Regions from separate parts of the Homo sapiens genome. Here regions 1, 3, 4 and 5 are each linked to region 2. The links are contacts of gene promoters, found by promoter capture Hi-C in human tissues and cell types (Jung and others, 2019). All regions are on one chromosome and are shown on one strand. Each heading gives the region's core, a stretch centred on a gene start or on the middle of the fragment in contact. The rest is flanking DNA. Distances are from core to core; before and after follow the strand shown. Region 1 overlaps FAM76A (family with sequence similarity 76 member A). Region 2 holds the start of MAP3K6 (mitogen-activated protein kinase kinase kinase 6). Region 3 has its middle 70 kb from the start of SLC9A1. Region 4 has its middle 15 kb from the start of IFI6. Region 5 has its middle 7.5 kb from the start of KDF1.

Region 1 (3,473 bases), core at 686-3,185, 390 kb before region 2:
CTGTAGTTCCAGCTACTTGGGAGGCTGAGGCTGGAGAATCACTTGATCCCAGAAGGCAGAGGTTGCAGTGAGCCGAGATCATGCCACTGCACTCCAGCCTGGGTGACAGAGCATGACTCCATTAAAAAAAAAAAAAGTTTTTTTTAAATCAAGGAACAATGGTGGTGTGGTGGTGTCCAATATTCCACTAAATGGAAGCCCCATAAGTACAATAACTTGGTTTTGTCACTGCTGTAACCGCGCTGCCTAGCACAGTGCCTATCACAACATGAGCACTTACACTGGGTAAACAGAATCACCAAGAGGCTGGGTGTGGTAGCTCATGCCTGTAATCCTAGCACTTTGGGAGGCTGATGAGGTGGGTGGATGGCTTGAGTCCAGGAGTTGGAGACCAGCCTGGATGGCAAAACCCTATCTTCACAAAAAATACAAAAATTAGCTGGGTATGGTGGCGTGCATCTGTAGTCCCAGCTACTTGGGAGGCTGAGGTGGGAGAATCCCCAGGAAGTCGGGGCTGCAGTGATCTACTTGCCACTGTACTCCAGCCTGGATGACTGAGTGAGACTCTGTCTCAAAACAGTCATAGAAGAGAGAAAGAAAGAGTTTATTCTCTAATGGACAGGAAATTCCCAATTAGCAGTTAGGCTTTTAATTTTTTAAGTCTATAAGCAAGACAAACTTTTCTAGGCTGAAGGGCTGAAGGGGATAACGGGGTATGTCTACTGGTAAACAGCAAGAAATAAAAACAAAATCCAACAATTACACTTGAGTCAATATGAATTTTTATTAACACACATTTGTCAAAGTCTGTACAAACCAAAACATTCCTGTGTTTTAAAATGTCCATTATTACAAACATACAAAGAAACAAAAGGTGTTACCAAAAGTTAGCTACTCAATTTCATGGTAAAACAGTGTCATGATTTTTAAAAATCAAAATTTCAAGACTGAGGTTTCTTCTTTCCCTTTTTGGAACTTATGGAAAGTTAGAAAACGTGTGAATTTGCTTTATATTAAATGCCAAGACCTTAAAAAAAGATTTAGTATAAAACTAAGTATGTTTTTATATTGTCATACATCATGTAACAGAATTTCAGTCCTTAAAATTAAAAAAAAACACCATGACTGTCATTTCCCCCTAATTTTTCTCCCATAGTCAATGCAAATGCATCTGAAAAATATTATGACAGTTTATCTTTACCTAAAAGCTTCTCATTCAAAAACTTTACAAAACTATTTAGCACTGCCATTTCCCTTGCTTAGAAGGGAAAATTATATCCCCTAGTAGGGTGATATATAAGCGACATGGTCCACTGTATCCCTTATCAGAAGGAAACCACCATTTCCACATCTCTGTCCAATTATGTGTAGGACTCCATTTATGAGAATGCTATCACAAATTATAGAGCATCTGCTTCCAGGAAACGCCTAGAAGTTAAATTTAGTACTATAATTTTTTGGTAGACTGAGGTACAAATGTTATCTGCCCTCATTATTATTTCTAACTCTAGTACCCCCTGCATAAATGATTCTAGGGTAGTTGGTTTTGTTGTTTCATGGCACACATGACACACCCTAATTCCTTTCACAAACATCACATAGAGGACCTGAGAGTATGCCTAGAAATGTAAATCTATCCCCTTTCCTGGAAAAGTAAATCCATATTCCTACAGGGTTAAGAAGGGAAGATAGGCAGGGCATACATAACTCTGGTTGAGGCAAAGTGCTTCTGAGAAGCACCTGTTTTCAATACATATCCATGAAAAGCAGGGAGTGTATGGGCTCGGGTGGGTGAGGAGTGGGGAGAAGGTATAGTGATACCACTTTTCCCAGACTCAAGAGTCCTTACTAGAGCAGCTCATGCTGACCCCAAAAATGCTCTGTAGTTCAAATATTATTCCTTTTTTTTTTTTTTTTGAGACGGAGTCTCACTCCATTGCCCAGGCTGCAGTGCAGTGTTGCGATTTCAGCTCATTGCAACCTCTGCCTCCCGGGATTCGAGCAGTTCTCCTGCCTCAGCCTCCTGGGTAGCTGGGATTACAGGTGCATGCCACCAGGCCCGGCTAATTTTTGTATTTTTTTAGTACAGATGGGGTTTTACCATGTTGGCCAGGATGGTCTCAAACTCCTAACCTCAAATGATCCACCCGCCTTGGCCTCCCAAATTGCTGGTATTACAGGCGTGAGCCACCGCACCCGACCATATTATTCCATTTTTAATCTGTTCATTCATGTAAAAAAACATTCTCTGACAGCAGCCCAGTATGACAACTGATATAAGCAAATAAAGGATTTTATTTTTTAAAGAAGTGGCAGTGTGAGAATTTAAAATCAATCACATAAAACAATCAGGAAAGGGGTGGGGAGAGAAGTGTCCAGTACAACCTGGACAACCTTGCTTTCTGCCCTTACTTAAAAAGACAGACGGTTCAAATCTTTGCTACCTCCCTTAAGTATCTCCATAAATGCTCTTCCAAGAAATCCTCCAAAAGGCACTTAGCTCCATACTTATGCATTGAATTGTTTCACCTTAGCAATCAGTTTTTAAGACTCCAAGGTAACAAGAAAGAAAAGATCTGATTCTTTTACTAAAAGCTAGTGAATAGGACTGTTTTTTTTTCAAGAGGCATCACTTTTACAAGAACTAGCTAGACCACCATTATTCCTTTATCAAGAAAAAGTTTCTTTTTTAAAAAATAAATAAAACTCTGGCTATACATAGTACAAAGTTCATACATAATACATCTGGAAAAAAACCGAAGAGTATACCCTGAAGCAAAAGGTTTATTGGAGAGAGAAAGCCTCTTCCATTATACCAAGTCTGAAGATGGCAGTTTTCAAAGTTCAGAGGGTGGCAGTGATATATAATTAATGCCAAACTGTTTGCTCATGGGTATGGCAGGATGCAATGAAGGACCAAAAAAAAAAAAAAAAACAAAAAACAAATCATTCTGCACATTACACTGAGCAGTGACCACCACAAAAAAAAAAAAAAAAAAAAAAAGAAAAAAGAAAAAAAAAGAATAGAACCAAAATAGAGAGAAGAGGAAGAAGAAAAAGAAAAGTCCTAATAGTGAGAGAAAGAGAGCGAGCTTGAAATCCCAAACACTCAAGCATGCAGTCTAACACAGCACAAACCAGGTGTTTCCATTCAGCCCACTGCAATCGCACAAAGAAGGATAACTGTAATAAAATAGAGATTTCTTAAGAAAGCTTGCAATTCCCACAGAACAGCCAGGTCTCCAACCCTAACCCTGGACAACTCCATTTGCTGTTGCTAGGGAGCCTCCTTGAGGTCTGTCATGGAGAGGTTATAGCTCCTGACTTCTCTGACTTCTTGCTCTTGGACAAAGCAGCTGCCTGCTTCAGGAGCTCTCGGTTTTTGGCCTAAAGAAAAAAAAAATCAGTGCAAGAAGGATGTTTCAAACAGGATATAAGCTATTTTTCATGCAGAGTAAGTGCAGATGCTAAGG
Region 2 (3,935 bases), core at 826-3,325:
ATTTCCTTCCAGTCAGGAAGATGGAAAGGACAGCCTCTAAAGTAGTGAGGCTTCTGTCTCTGGAGGTGTGCAAGACAAGGCCAGAGGGGCATATAGTGGAAGGACTGGAGGAGATTCAAGCATCCATTGACAATTTCCTGAGGCTCTCTGGGTCCTGCAAGTGGATGGCTTTGTGGCAGGAATTGCACAATTGCACAGCTTTTTTGTTTGTTTGTTTGTTTGTTTGTTTTTGAGACGCAGTCTCGCTCTGTCGCCCAGGCTGGAGTGCAGTGGCACCATCCTGGCTCACTGCAAGCTCTGCCTCCCAGGTTCACGCCATTCTCCTGCCTCAGCCTCCCGAGTAGCTGGAACTACAGGCACCCGTTACCACGCCCGGCGAATTTTTTGTATTTTTAGTAGAGACGGGGTTTCATCATGTTAGCCAGGATGGTCTCAATCTCCTGACCTCATGATCTGCCCTCCTCGGCCTCCCAAAGTGCTGGGATTACAGGTGTGAGCCACTGCGCCCGGCCGCTTTTTTTTTTTTTTTTTTTTTGAGATGGAGTCTTGCTCTGTCGCCCTGCCCAGGCTGGAGTGCAATGAGCCAGAGGGGCATACAGTGGAAGGATTAGAGGAGATCCAAGCATCCATTGACAATTTCCCGAGGCCCTCTGGGTCCTGCAAGTGGATGGCTTTGTGGCAGGAATTGCACAATTGCATAGCTTTTTTTTTTTTTGAGATGGAGTCTTGCTCTGTCGCCCCGCCCAGGCTGGAGTGCAATGGCACGATCTCCACTCACCGCAACCTCCATCTCCCAGGTTCAAGTGATTCTCCTGCCTCAGCTCCCAAGTAGCTGGGATCACAGGCAGGTGCCACCACACCCAGCTACTTTTTTTTGTATTTTTAGTAGAGACGGGGTTTCACCATGTTGGCCAGGCTGGTCTCGAACTCCTGACCTCGTGATCCACTCATCTTGGCCTCCCAAAGTGGGATTACAGGCATGAGCCACCGCCCTGGCTGGGAATTGCACAGCTTTCTCAGCCTGTCGGTTGCCCATGCCTGTCCTTTGTAAGTTGTCTGTTTTCCACTCCAGCCTCTGTTGCAGGCCAAGTTCTCAAACTCTACCACTTCCTGCCTATCTCATTGGGTGTCAGTTCGAATCCAAGGTCAAACCAAGGAAGGTACCTTTTTCTTCCACAAGGCAACAGGGCAATGAAACAGCCATTGAGTAGCATTTAAGCAGTTTATTTGCCCAAAGCCACATTCTAGTAAGTGGCAGAATTAAATAGTTAAGAGTCTGACAGGCGGTCCTGGGTTTGCACCCTGCTGTCATGTGCTGAGTGATCCTGGACAAGTTATTCAACTTAAGTCCCCAGTTCTTGGTTTCAGGGTCCACTGAGGCTTCTACCAGGTTGCTGCCTCACTCATTAATTCACACAAGAAAGTTGGGGACTCTTGGGGATTTGAAGCTGAGAAGCTGCTGTAGTGCAAAGGGCTGGGGTTGACTCCTTCAAGGGGTGGCTAAAGAAATGTTTAGAGTTGTTTAGAGTAGGAAGTGCTTCTCAGGTCCCATGGCCACGTTCTGCCTAGAAGTCAAAGGTCAGCGGGGGTCCACAGCAGGTTGGGTCCTGGGGAAAGCAGCCCCCTAGTGACAGTTAAGGCTCAGATGCCAAGTCCCACTCCAGGACTGAAGGCTTTCGGGCAAGCGGCCTAGGGTGTAGGTTTCCCCCATCCCAGTCCCTCCCTGCCTGCGCTCACTGGGCCCGGGAGGACACCCATTGTTCATCATGCTCTGCGCACCCTGATGTCTCTAGAGAGCCATTCATTCAACAGATACCTGCAGAGCAGGGCCTGCATATCGAACCTTTTCCCTAGCCCTGGCCTCCTCACACATTTTATGTGCACTTGCTGTGAGCAGTCCACAGTCTTTGGCGTGCACAGGGGCACAGGCTGTTCCGGAAGCCGCCAGTCTCCAAAGTTCTGGCGGGAGAGAAGGGAGGGGAGAGGCTGAGTCTCAAGCCGCTAGGGAGCGGCTCTGCCCCAGGGCCGAGGGTGGAGCTTTCTGGGTCGGCCGGGAAAGGGCTGGGCTTAGCCTACAAGTGAAGGCAGGGCAGCGTTGGCGGGCGCTCCCTTGAGAAGTCCAGGTGGCGGGCACCTCCGAGCCGATTCCCAGGATCCCCCAAGTGGCTCTGAGCTGCCGATCACCGGATGCCCCAGATTCCTGGGACCCAATCCCGGATTTCAGAACCTCAGGACCTTGCAAGTCCGAGCTAGGATTTCTCCCTGGACTTTAGATTCCTGGAACGGGACGTCAGGCCGTATTCCGGATCCCTAGATCCCGTGGGAGATTCTCCGATTCCGAACGGATTCCAGATCCCAAGATTCCTGATCTGCCGGCCCAGGCTCCTGCCCCGCCCCCGGTTCCCAGTGCGCGGCGCCCCGCGCCTGAGCGCCCCCGCATGGCGGGGCCGTGTCCCCGGTCCGGGGCGGAGCGCGCCGGCAGCTGCTGGCAGGACCCGCTGGCCGTGGCGCTGAGCCGGGGCCGGCAGCTCGCGGCGCCCCCGGGCCGGGGCTGCGCGCGGAGCCGGCCGCTCAGCGTGGTCTACGTGCTGACCCGGGAGCCGCAGCCCGGGCTCGAGCCTCGGGAGGGAACCGAGGCGGAGCCGCTGCCCCTGCGCTGCCTGCGCGAGGCTTGCGCGCAGGTCCCCCGGCCGCGGCCGCCCCCGCAGCTGCGCAGCCTGCCCTTCGGGACGCTGGAGCTAGGCGACACCGCGGCTCTGGATGCCTTCTACAACGCGGGTGAGAGCGCTGGGGGCGGGGCCGGATCCGGGCGGGACTCAGGGTCCTGGGAGGGGACCAAGCCGGGCTCGAAGGCTCAAGGGAGGGGCCGAGAGGGGTACCGGGTCTAGGGGACTTAAAGTGAGCTAAAGCTGAAGGGCTTGGGACAGGGCCGTGAAAAAAGTGGGATTTAGGGGATCTGGGGCGCGGCCGGGCTCGGGACGAGACAGGGATCCGGGCGCGGCTCTAGGGCTCGAGGTTGGGGCTTAGGCACCCTTCAGTCGGAGCGGTGCCCAGCCAGCGGGGCAAGGATGGGGAGGGGCTTTGGAACTCTGGGGCGGGGCGGGGAGCGGCGCGGGGCTGTGGTGTCTCAGGGGTGGGGTTGGAGAACTCAGCCTCACCCTCAGGAGAATGTCACGCGGATCTCTTGAGGACAATTACTGGGAGAGGAGCTTGGACTTAGGGAAAGGGGCCGGGAGGCTGGAGTTCAGGAGTCCTAGCATACTATTTCCAAGGATCGGGCTAGGAGAGGCAAAAAGAGAAGCGAAGGGGCCCGACGGGACTGGATACTGGGTGAGGGAGCTTAGGTTAAGTGGCCTCAGCGGCCCAGAAAGAATGGGCGGGGAAGGGGCGGGGAAGTGGGCGGGAAAGGATGGCTCAGGGGCGGGGCCAGAAGGAGGCTATTCCCCCGCGAGTCACTCCTCCCTCCAGCCAGCCCGGATGCTCGGCCCCCATACTTACTTGCTTATGCTAGAGTCCAGTAGCTGTGCTTCCTGGATGTCCATGAAATCGTAGCCTAAAATGAAGGCTGACCCGACCACTCGGACACAAAGATACAATTATCGACAGACACAAATCGCATACATGTTGACTCATGCAGGCCCTAGCAGACGCTGTCACACACACAGATACAGTCAGACATAGTAAGCTATACATGTCACAGATATACACATACATACATTTAGGCACAGCGTTGTCTATGCACACTGATGGTAGCCCCTTTCAAGAGCCTGTGCTGAAGACCAAAGGGAGGGGACTTCTATGTTTGCGCAACTCCCACCTCCTAAATGGCCCGTAACAGACTCAACTGGTCCACAGCCTCCCTTCCCCCATGCCAGGTGCTCACAGGCTCTGAACCGTGGCCTGAGGGTCCCAACCCAGTGAGCCCAACTCCTCTC
Region 3 (3,725 bases), core at 170-2,669, 280 kb after region 2:
TTGGCCAACATGGTGAAACCTGTCTTTACTAAAAATACAAAAATTAGCTGGGGCGCATGCCTGTAATCCCACCTACTCAAGAGGCTGAGGCAGGAGAATTGCTTGAACCCAGGAGGCGGAGGTTGCGGTGAGCCAAGGTCGTGCCACTGCACTCCAGTCTGGGTGACAAGAGTGAGACTCTCAAAGAAAACTGAGGCTCAGCTGCCCCATGCAATTTGACAGATAGGTCCAGAGCACCTGCTGTGTGTGTGTGTGTGTGTGTGTGTGTGTGTGTGTGTGTGTGTGTGTTGTGTGGCGGGGGGTGGTGTGTGTCTGTGGTGTGAGGTATGTGTGGGGTGTGTGTTTGGTGTGTGGTGTGTGGTTGTGTGTGTGGTGTTTGGTACGTGAGGTGTGTGTGTGGTGTGTGGTGTCTATGGGTGTTGTGTATGCTGTGTGTGTGTGTGGTGTGTGTGGATGTGGTGTGTGTGGTGTGATATGTGGGGTGTGTGGTGTGTGTGGGATAGGCGGTGTCTCTGTGTGTGATGTGTGTGGTGTGCAGGGTGTGTATGGGGTGTGTGGGGTGTGTGTATGTGTGTAGTGTGTGGTGTGTGTGGTATGTGGGATGTGTGGTGTGTAGTGTGTGTGGTGTGGTGTATGGATGTGGTGTGTGTGGTGTCTGTGTGTGTGGTATGTGGGGTATGTGGTATGTGTGTGGTGTGTATGTGTGGTGCAGTGTGTGGGCTGTGTGGTATGTGGTGTGTGTGTGGTGTGGTGTGTGTGATCTTTGTGGTGTGTGGGGGTGGTGTGTGAGGTGTATGTGGTGTGTGATGTGTGTGTGGTATGGTGTGTGTTGTGGTTGGCAGAATTGTAAGATGGCCTCCAAGATTCCTGCCTTTTGTTGTACAAGACATGTATAATCCCCTCCCCTTGACGGTATACAGGCAGAACCTGTATGGTGGGATATTGCTGTGATTAGGTTACATTATATAGCAAAGGTGAATATTGCAAATATAATTAAGGCCCCTAATCAGTTGACTTTGAATTAATCAGAAGAAACTCATCTTGGTGGGCCTGACCTAATCAGGTGAGCCTTTTACAGAGCGCTTTACTGCTGGCCTTGAAGGAGCAAACTGTCCTCTTGTGAAGGGGGTCACATGTCAGTGAGCAACTGGTGGCCTCTAGGAGCTACGAATGGCCCCTGTTGGCAGCCAGCAAGAAAGTAGAAACCTCAGTCCTCCAATTGCAGGAAACTGAATTCTGCAACAACCAATAAGCTTGGAAGATGACCCTGAGCCCCAGCTGGGGTCACAGTCTGGGCTAGTTCCTTGATTTCAGCCTGGTAAGATGCTAAGCAGAGGACTCAAAACATGCTGGGCTTCTGACCCACAGAAACTGTGACACAATAAATGTGTTTTTTGTTTGTTTGTTTGTTTGTTTGTTTGTTTTTGACGGAGTCTCGTTCTGTCACCCAGGCTGGAGTGCAATGGCACAATCTCGGCTTACTGCAACTTCCACCTCCTGGGTTCAAGAGATTCTCCTGCCTCAGCCTCCCAAGTAGCTGGGATTACAGGTGCGCGCCACCACACCTGGCTAATTTTTGTATTTTTAGTAGAGACGGTTTCGCCATGTTGACCAGGGTGGTCTCAAACTCCTGACCTCAGGTGATCTACCCACCTCAGCCTCCCAAAGTACTGAGATTACAGGCATGAGCCACCACGCCTGGCAAATGTGTGTTCTTTTAAGCCACTAAGTTTGTGGTAATGTATTACACAGCAATAGAAAACTAATACAGCCATTAGTTTACTTTTGTTTTGTTTGTGTGTGTGTTGGGGGTGGAGAGTGGATATTAGAAATGTTTTTAAAGTGGTGGGAAATGACCCAGTAGAGAAGGAAACACTTTGATAAAGTAAAAGAGGTAGAGATTCAGAATCAAGACATTCTGAGGCCAGGCACAGTGGCTCACATCTGTAATCCCAGCACTTTGGGAGGCTGAAGCAGGAGGAGCTCTTGAGTCCAGGAGTTCAAGACAAGCCTGGGCAACATAGAGACACTGTGTCTCTACAAAAAACAAAAGACAAAAAAACATAGCCAGGCATGGGTGGTGGCCCATGCCTGTGGCCCCAGCTAGTCAGGAGGCTGAGGTGGGAGGGTCGCTTCGCCCAGGAGATTGAGGCATGATTGCACCACTGCACTCCAGTCTTGGTGACAGAGCGAGACCCTGTCTTAAAAAGAAGGAGAAGGAGGAAAAGAAGGAGAAGAAAGAGAAGAAGGGGAAGAAGAAGGAGGAGAAGAAGAAAAGAAGAAAGAAGAGAGAGAAAAAAAAGACACCCTTGAGAGAAGTAGGGACAACATCTCCAAAGTAGGAAGAAGCAGATGGGTTTGCAGATTTTGTGGAGGAAAGATGAAAAGGTGTCTGTGTGACTGAAGGCATTAATTCTCTCAATAAATAGTCAGGCAAGGTTACCAAATCAAATGAGAATGAATCTAGAAAGGGAAATAGGAAATTTGAAGAAAGAGGAAAAGAAGTGAAATAGTTACCTTGAGAAAGAGGAGAAGAAAGAAACTGTTCGTGTTAGAAAAACAGTAGAGTTTTCCGTGTCGAGTCCCTTTGATGTTTGAGAACAGTGGCACTGCTCAGCTCAGCTGTACGAATTTGTCAGTGATCTTCAGATACTTGAGTGCAGGCACCAAGACAGATGGGTTTTGCCAGGCAAATAAGATGAAGTCAAAGAGGGGTTATGGAGTTCCAGGTATTGGCAAAGAGATAGTGATAATGATAAACCATAGACCCTAGAAGAGACCCAAAGAGAGGTTAAGACTGGAGGAAGTTGAGAACTAGGATTAATGTACTGGACATATCCCTGGACGGGAGCATTATTAAATGGGTCTCTGTTAGTTGGGGATGAGGCTAAGGTGCTGTCACAAAGCTGTCCCCAAATACAGCAGCTTCACATAAGTGTTTTTTTCTCATGTAACGATCCTGAGATAAGTGGTCCAGGTTGTTGGGGCCACTGTGTGCCCTGCTGTCATTCAATGCCAGGTTCCTTCCATCTCATTGCTCCTCTGACATCCCCTAAGGTGTCCTCCTAATTTTCATGGTCAAACCATGGTCCGTGTTTAAACCACGGGAAGGAAATGAGCATGAAGGAGAAGGCACCTAAATTCTAAAGCCTGTAGTTGGAGGTGACACACATCAATTCTGCTCACATCCATTGCCAATAACTTATGACATAGCCCCACCCAGCTGCAGGGAGGCTGGGAACTGTAGTCTCTAGGTGGGCAGCTAAGTAACTCTACTGTTTATACAAAAGAAAGAGAGAATAGATTTTGGTGGACACCAAGCAGTCTTTGCCATAAAGGGTATTTTAGCAAATGAGCATGATAATTGCAATATGTTATCTTGTAAATTTATTTAATAATTCCCCTGTTTTGAACACATTTGCCTATTATAACATTTTACCTATTATAACTAGTTTGCCAATTGACATCTCAGTACATAAGCTTTAGGGAGTACAGTTTCTGGTAAACATCTTCCTAAAAACATCTTCCTGAAAATCAATGACCAGCTAATAATGAAATCACCAGTCAAACGTAAGTGAAATGAGAGGTAAGCCTGTTTTTTCCTGAGATCATTTGCTAGCCAGGTATACAGGGGCTTCAGGTTGGGTGGTCTCACAAAGTCCAGAACTTAACCAAGAAGGAGAATCTGATATGAGACCCCAAAGTGTCATACTCTCAGAGTAAGG
Region 4 (3,941 bases), core at 1,320-3,819, 320 kb before region 2:
CTTCCGCTCCCTGTTATTTCATTATCTATTACAGAAAAGAAGACCGAGAATGTAAGCACATTCTTAAACAGACCCATTCACAAGATAATATCTCTTTCAGGCTTATTTACTTCCAAGAGAACCATTTACAAGTTTGTTGTTGTCGTGGTCGTTGTTGTTTTTGAGATAGGGTGTCTCTCTGTTGTGCAGGCTGGAGTGCAGTGGTGCATTCATAGCTCACTGTAACCTCAAACTCCCGGATTTAAGGGGAGCCTCCTGACTACGGGTATGCACCACCAAGCCCAGCAAATTTTAAAAGTTTTTGTACAGATAGGGTCTCACTGTGTTGCCCAGGCTGGTCTTGAACTCCTAGCCTCAAGCAGTCCTCCTGCTTTGACTTCCCAAAGTGTCAAAATTACAGGTGTGAGCCACTATGCCCAGCCCGTTTATAAATTAATCTCTATTCCTCCGCCCCCACCCATTCATTCTCCCTAGTAATCATTTATTGTCCCTCAACAGAATTACCTATATTCCCTATCTCCCCCATCCCCTCTGAAATAAAGCTATAGAAGTATTTGGGCCTCATTGGGATGTTGGGTAAGCACTCTGTGATTTTTCCCTCATGTACACATTAATAAATTTGTATGACATTTCTCTATTAATCTGCATTTTGTGGGTTGAATGTACAGTGATCCTTGAGAGGGCAAAGGAGAAGTTTTTCCCTTGGCCCCTACATTCCCTATAAATGTCAAATGGAACACCCCAGATGAAGCAGTTGATAGGTTTCATATGCAAGCCATGTGGAGCTGGCTTTACAATGACCAGGCATTCACCCGCTAAGGATGCCTGTATATGGCAGATGCAGCTGACAGCCATAACTTAACTGAAGCGTACCCTGAGAATGATCCTAGGGTCTAAGAAGAATGTGTGTTCGGAGTCCTGAGCTAAGGAATCCGGGAGTGGCCAACCCAGAGTTTCACTCCTTATCTATGAAGGACATCTGAGCCCCTGGCTCATTCCTTGGAACACAGGCCATACAGGGGATGGAGTCCCTTTTTGTGGATTAACTGGAGGTTGCTGGGTAGAGGTTGCTAGGTGGAAGGTGCTAAGTGAAAATGCTGTATCAACTGCATGCGTTTCATAAAACGCATGCCCTGTTTCATAAATGCATGCTCCTGTCCAGCCCACCACCACTGGACCATCCCTGTGTGTAAGTTCCCCTCAGTAAACCCTAAGTCTCATTCACTGGTTCCGGCCTCTAGGACACAGTGCCATCCCTATTGGAGTCAACAGGAGTCCTGCATGACAATGCCTATTACCCGGGTCATGATAAATGCTGTGGTTCAGGCAGCCTCTTTTGCATGGGCACCTCATGTAACCTTACTACTGCAAAACTGAGCTATAGTCAGAGAAGCCTTATCAAATTTGCTACCTCAGCTTCCCCTCCTGGGTCTTACGGATGGTAATGAAAACATTAAGGCAACTAACAAGAGAATAGGTAATGGGAGAGGGGAGAATCAAAGGATTTCTCCCACGAAGGCAAACATTTTTAAATGGTTATTAAGAAATAAGGCAAGAGCCACTGGCACCTGATGCCTCCCGGAGTTCATGTCCCTTCTGCCTTTCCAAGGGGTGCTTCTGTCAGACTGGCCAGGGGACAATACCCTGTTCCAGTTGAAATTTATGGTGAAGCAGCTGGAGAAACCAGACAAGAAGGCAGAAAAGCACTCCTACGCCAACCAGGCCAAAGTGAAGAAGTCCCTTCAGCAGAAAAATGTAGAGTGCACCCGTGTGTACACCAAGAACACCATCTGCAAGGAGAACAGCAGCGTGAACTGGCTCTACATGGCATCCGCCTGGACACAGTGGCCCCCGAGGTGCAGACAGCTGTGACCATGAAGGTGGTAACCAAGAACATGGTGTAGGTGACCAAAGCCCCAGACAAGGCCTGAACACCACGGACCTGCAGAAGGCCTCTGCAGCGATGGACAGGTTTGAGTAGCAAGTGCAAAACCTGGCCATGCACACATTAGTGATGGAGGATTCCATGAGCTCGGCCGCCACACTGACCATGCCTCAGGAGCAGGTGGACAGACCCATTGTGCAGAGCGCCAAGGAGAATGGCCTGGAGGTCCTAGACCAGCTCAGCCAGTTGCCCAAGGGTGCCTCTGCCGGGCGAGAGCTCCGTGTGAAGCCAGGAGGAACAGCTGTCAAGGGCGTTAGCCGCCCTGAGGAATTAGCCGCACCCTGCCGTGGGCACCGCCTCTGCTCTGTGATGTGCCGCAAGGCTCCTGGCCTCCTCCCCTCCCCCCGGCATCTTGCCTTTTTGTTGATCCTGCAGAGCTGCAGCTGGCAGCTACTGTCGCCCAGCTCCTCTCACCTGCCTGGCCTAGGTGGCCCTGGAGTTGTTCCTGTTTTCTTAGGTTGGGCGGTGGATCTGTGTCCTGGTGTTGAGTAGGGGTGACTTCTGTGACTCTGGGGCCAACAGCTGGGAGGTCAGCAGGCTCTCTTTTGCTCTCTGTGGAGTCGATGGGGTCTGGCCAGTGGGTGCCATGTAAACTTTTGCTCAACACTGCGGGGACCTTCAGACTCCGTGATAGGAGACATGCTGCTCACTGTCAGCCAGTGGGGGTCAGGGCTGCCCTGTTTTCCAGGCAGCTCCTGGAGAAGGCCTCTCCACGCACCCTGCCCCTACCACCAATGGGCAGGAGGTCCCACCATGTGAACGGACACAGCCTGAAGAGGCACCAGTGGCTCGTGTGTGCTGGGGAACGTCAGGTGCCACCCAACACTGTCTTGGTGGCATTTACAGATGATGACCCTCCCCCTCTTCCTCCTCTGTCATTCTAGGGGTGGGGTCTGGGCTGCTCCTGACAGCTGGCTGAGCCTCCCTGGGCCTCCTGCCCTCAGCTCCCCTGGTTCTTAAAGCTGCCCAGTCCATGGGGACAGAAACTTGCCCAGCTCCAAATCCAGGAGTTTCCACCCTGGGGTCCTCATCCTTGCTCATCTGCCACCTCTGGAGGTGCCTTGGGCTACATGGGCTGTGCTGTTGTGTCCCCTCAGCAGGGGGTCTGTCCATGCACTGGCCAGAATTGAGCATGTGCGTGGGGCCTCCTCGGTGATGCTGCCTGTGTGCCAATCTCTTCTGTCTCTCTAAATAACTGGGTGCCTCCCCCGACTGCACCCCATCCTACCTTCCCAGCGTGGAAGCCAGAGTGGCTGGTGAAGGGAGCTTAGGAGAGTCACCTTCAGCTGGGCCAGTGGCTCTGTGAGGAAAACCTGTGCTGTGGCCACGCGGGCACCACCAGCTGCAGCTCATCAGGAGGACTCGGAGAGGGGGACGGCAGAGAGAGGGCTTTGGGCACAGCCTGCTGTTTTGTTTTTTCTGTTCCCTAAAGTTTACTTCATTTTCTTGAAGCTTCCAGGGTTTTGTTGTTGTTTGCCAAAGTAGAAAGGACAGGTGGCAGGCGGGGAGGGTGAGTCCCAGCCCCTCCTCTGCACCAGGGCTGCCGCGGTGTCATGGCTCTTATGAAGGGAAGCATAAGACCCTCACTCAGTGCGTTTGGTTTTCTTTTCAGGATTTCAGAGCCCCTGGGAGGAGATCCCATTGGTGGGTCTGGACATGCGGAGGTCAAGGCACCATCTGGCCATGGTCCTCTCCAGCCTCCCCAGAAATTGACCCACATGCTGGGTGTTGAAACAAGGTCCCTCTATCCCTTGCAAATAACAGCTTTGGAATTAACAGCTTTGGGGAGCTACCTTGTCCTCCCAAGGGTGCAGGGCTCCACAGAGCCAAGGGCCAGGCAGGGGCTACCTCAGCCCTGTCTCCTTGGGCACCAAAGCAGGGATTTGTTGAAGGAGAGAGCCATGTTTGCCCTTTTCCTAAAATGCTGCTGTAAATAAACAGGTCCCCCAGCAAGCAAGGAAGCAAAGGAAGGAAGGAAGGAAGGAAGGAAGGAGAA
Region 5 (3,671 bases), core at 79-2,578, 400 kb after region 2:
ACTCCCAGCCAGAGCCTTTGGGCTCTGCCCTGGCTGGGTGCTGGGGACTCAGGGATGAATCAGAACAGACCTTGCCCACTGGGAGCTTCAGTCTGAAGGCAGGAAAAGCAGCAGGGGAGGTCAAGATCACTTAGGGACCCAGATGGCCTTGACTTAGCATAGGGGACAGCCTTCTAGCTGGGGGCTCTCTAGGAAGGCTTCCAAGAGGCATTGGCTCTTGGAAGTGACATTGGCTGGGGTGGGCAGAACGTAGGGGGTGGTGTTCAGTGGCCAGAGCTGCAGTGCTCTCTCTGAGTGACCAGGAGCCTCAGCTTGGCCATGTGTAGCCTTTCCTCTGTGTGTGTGTGTGTGTGTGTGTGTGTGTGTGTGTGTGTGTGTGTGTGTGTGTAACAGTGAGGGAGTAGTATGGTGGGGGATGAGGGTGCAGCCAAGAGAAGGGCTGAATGAATAAATGCATTTCACTGATGTAGAAACTAAAGCCCAGAGAGTCTGAGTCACTTGTCCAGGCTCACAAAGCACCAAGCAGTAAAGGCAGGATCTGAACCCAGGTTTAACCTGACACCACACAGAGGCAAGTGAGGAAGCAGAGGTCCATATTCACCAAGGCCCACCCCTTACTCACTATGTGACCTCAACTAAGCTCGTTCCCCTCTCGCACCTCATTTTCTCATTGGCAAATTGAGGGGGTTGGGTGAAGCTTCTTTTGGCACAAGGACTCTGGAAAATACTTTTACTAGGGACTTGGAACCAACCAGCAGATCCTGCCTCAACCTGGCACAAGATAGGGTTCCTCAGCCTGCAGCTCCCTCTAGGCCCAGCCAATGGGGTGCAGCACTGGCACAAGACAGAGAACCCCAGGAATCCCTGGGGGCTCCCGTCTAACAGTGCAGCCTGGAGTTCCAGGGGGCTTCCCCTGCACCTCTCTCCACAGCTCTCACACAGTACAGAGCCCTGTTCGCTTGCCCCTCACCCCCTTCACCGCCACCCCCACCCCACAAGCGTAACAGTTTTTTTTGTTTGTTTTGTTTTGTTTTTTGAGATGGAGTCTCGCTCTTGTTGCCCAGGCTGGAGTGCAATGGTGTGATCTCGGCTCACTGCAACCTCCACCTCCCGGGTTCAAGCGATTCTCCTGCCTCAGCCTCCCAAGTAGCTGGGATTACAGGCATGAGCCACCATGCCCAGCTAATTTTGTATTTGTAGTAGAGATGGAGTTTCTCCATGTTGGTTAGGCTGGTCTCGAACTCATGACCTCAGGTGATCCGCCCACCTCGGCCTCCCAAAGTGCTAGGATTACAGGTGTGAGCCAACGCAGCCGGCCTCTAAGGACCCAGTTTCTGGGGGGCCCAGAGGAGCCACTGCAAAGAGCTCAGGCTCTGAACCAGAATGAACTTGGGCTCAGCTCTAGGCTCTGCCACTTACTAGCTATGTGACCCTGGGCAAGTGGTTTAAATCTCTGAGCCTCTGTTTTCTTAGCTGTAAAACAGGAGTTTGAGATCTGTTTACTGAGTTATTGTGAGGATTTTTTTTTTCGCTTGGGGGACAGGGTCTTGCTCTGTCACCCAGGCTGGAGTGCAATGGCATGATCACTGCTCACTGCAACCTTGACCTCCTAGGCTCAAGTGATCCTCCTGCCTCAGCCTCCTGAGTAGCTGGGACCACGGGCGTGCATCACCATACTGGCTAATTTCTTTTCTTTCCTTTTTTTTGGCAGAGACAAGGTCTTGCTGTTTCCCAGCCTGGTCTGAACTCCTGAGCTCAAACGATCCTCCTGTCTTGGCCACTCAAAGTGCTGGGATTGCAGGTGTGAGCCACCCTGCTGGCCTTATTATGGGGATTAAATGGAATAAGGCACATAATAAACCTAACATGTTGTAGGCAGTCGTGGTCAATACCAGTAATTTGCTCAGCTTATTCTCAGAGGCAGTGGTCTTGCCTTTGAGAGTCCCAGCCCCAGAATGGCGGGGCAGGGAGCCAGAGGGTGGGGTGTGGAGGTGAGGAAGGGGGTTAATATAAAATAGCTAACATCTGTTTAGCACTTACCATGTGCTGGTCTCGGTTGTAATCACCACATGAAGCTATCACCCACACTTTACAGATGAGGTGTCTGAGGCACAGAGGAGTTCAATAACTTGGCCAAAGGAACACACAGCAAGTACGTGTATGAGCTGGGGCACGAGTTCAGATCCTATGGCTCCAGAACTCACACTCTAAACCACTGTGTTATCTTACCTCATGTTAAAACCATTTTTGGATGAGAAATGCTGAGGTCCAGGCCAGGCGTGGTGGCTCACGCCTATAATCCCAGCACTTTAGGAGGCCGAGGTGGGTGGATCACCTGAGGTCAGGAATTCGAGACCAGCCCGGTCACATGGTGAAACCCCATCTCTACTAAAAATACAAAAATTAGCTGCACGTGGTGGCCTGTGCCTGTAATCCCAGCTACTCCAGAGGCTGAGGCAGGAGAATCGCTTGAAGCCAGGAGGCAGAGGTTGCAGTGAGCCAAGATCGCACCATTGCACTCCAGCCTGGGCAACAGAGCGAGACTCCGTTTCAAAAAAGAAAAAAAAAAAAAAAGGAAATGCTGAGGTCCAAAGAGGCTAAGTTCACACCACAGCTGAGCATCTAGTATTCCAAGTCAGAACCTGTGACCCTGAAGTTCTGGCAATTTCCACTGTTGTGTGCTGTCCCCTAGTGCCCTTATGGGAGAAGCACACCAGAGGCAAGCAGCAGATACCCAGGGAAGGAAGGGAAGCAGGTCCACTGAAGCCGGCTCCACACACCACTGCCTACATTCCCCTGACCCACGGCTCCTCCACAGCCCCAGCGCTGTACGTGTTGCAGCTCCTAAACAGCACTCCAAAATGGCATCCATGGATACAATGGTGATATGTCTGGGCTATCTTACAGACCATCAAATTCAATAGGTCTAACACTACGTTTGCATTCTTACACCCCAAACTGGTCCTCCCCAGTCATCTCCATTCATCCAGTAACACAGCCAGAAGCCCAGCGTCATCCTTGATACTTCCCTCCTCCCACCAAGCTGTCACCACCAGCCTGGGAGCCTAAATGGTGGCTGAGGAGGGTGATCAGAAAAGTAAAAATTGAACAGAGTGGAGCAACCATGGGGAAAGCAGGGGATTGGGACAATGGCCCCAGGTCAAGGCCAAAAGGAAAAACTGAGCTCAAGAGGCTGATGACAGAGGCAGTTGTCCACTCTGCTTAGAAAGAAACCCAGACACGCTGGGTGCGGTAGCTCATGCTTGTAATCCCAGCACTTTGGGAGGCTGAGGCGGGTGGATCACGAGGTCGGGAGATTGAGACCATCCTGGCTAACTCGATGCAACTCCGTCTCTACTAAAAATACAAAAAATTAGCCAGGTGTGGCAGCACACGCCTGTAGTCCTAGCTACTAGGGAGGCTGAGGCAGGAGAATCACTTGAACCTGGGAGGCGGAGGTTGCAGTGAGCCAAGATCACGCCACTCCACTCTAGCCTGGGAGACAGAGCAAGACTCTGTCTCAAAAAAAAGAAAGAAACCCAGACACAGCTGTAAGGGCTTGGAGGAGGGCACAGTGAGGAACATTGTATGGGGAGTCAGAAAGATGGGGTTCCCACCCAGCTTTACTACTCATTAGAAGTGTGGCCTTGAGCAAATGGTCTAACCTTGAT

The links. Contacts are between HindIII fragments. The study calls those that stand out against the background at their distance.
Region 1: a contact is called between a fragment that was not itself captured here and the fragment with the promoter of MAP3K6 in region 2, in 2 of the 25 tissues and cell types used here (dorsolateral prefrontal cortex and mesenchymal stem cells).
Region 3: a contact is called between a fragment that was not itself captured here and the fragment with the promoter of MAP3K6 in region 2, in 1 of the 25 tissues and cell types used here (lymphoblastoid cells).
Region 4: a contact is called between a fragment that was not itself captured here and the fragment with the promoter of MAP3K6 in region 2, in 1 of the 25 tissues and cell types used here (liver).
Region 5: a fragment that was not itself captured here is called in contact with the fragment with the promoter of MAP3K6 in region 2 in 1 of the 25 tissues and cell types used here (neural progenitor cells).

What each region holds. Positions count from the first base shown.
Region 1 is chr1:27,760,409-27,763,881 of GRCh38, reverse strand. It overlaps FAM76A (family with sequence similarity 76 member A), which reads right to left. Exons shown (of 9, transcript NM_152660.3): 9 at 766-3,387. The coding sequence ends at 3,301. Among named protein-coding and RNA genes, the nearest start is that of STX12, 11 kb to the left of the region's middle. The HindIII fragment of the contact is 6,157 bases long and covers 1-3,473 here.
Region 2 is chr1:27,365,101-27,369,035 of GRCh38, reverse strand. MAP3K6 (mitogen-activated protein kinase kinase kinase 6) reads left to right here and starts at 2,075. Exons shown (of 29, transcript NM_004672.5): 1 at 2,075-2,778. The coding sequence starts at 2,439. RefSeq lists enhancers at 1,209-2,150, 2,151-3,094 and silencers at 2,347-2,456, 2,487-2,706, 2,777-2,826, 3,417-3,486. The HindIII fragment of the contact is 34,431 bases long and covers 1-3,935 here.
Region 3 is chr1:27,083,593-27,087,317 of GRCh38, reverse strand. No RefSeq gene overlaps it. Among named protein-coding and RNA genes, the nearest start is that of SLC9A1, 70 kb to the left of the region's middle. The HindIII fragment of the contact is 7,329 bases long and covers 1-3,725 here.
Region 4 is chr1:27,685,087-27,689,027 of GRCh38, reverse strand. It overlaps the pseudogene CHMP1AP1. Among named protein-coding and RNA genes, the nearest start is that of IFI6, 15 kb to the right of the region's middle. The HindIII fragment of the contact is 4,176 bases long and covers 482-3,941 here.
Region 5 is chr1:26,966,105-26,969,775 of GRCh38, reverse strand. No RefSeq gene overlaps it. Among named protein-coding and RNA genes, the nearest start is that of KDF1, 7.5 kb to the right of the region's middle. RefSeq lists a silencer at 2,345-3,045. The HindIII fragment of the contact is 6,129 bases long and covers 1-3,671 here.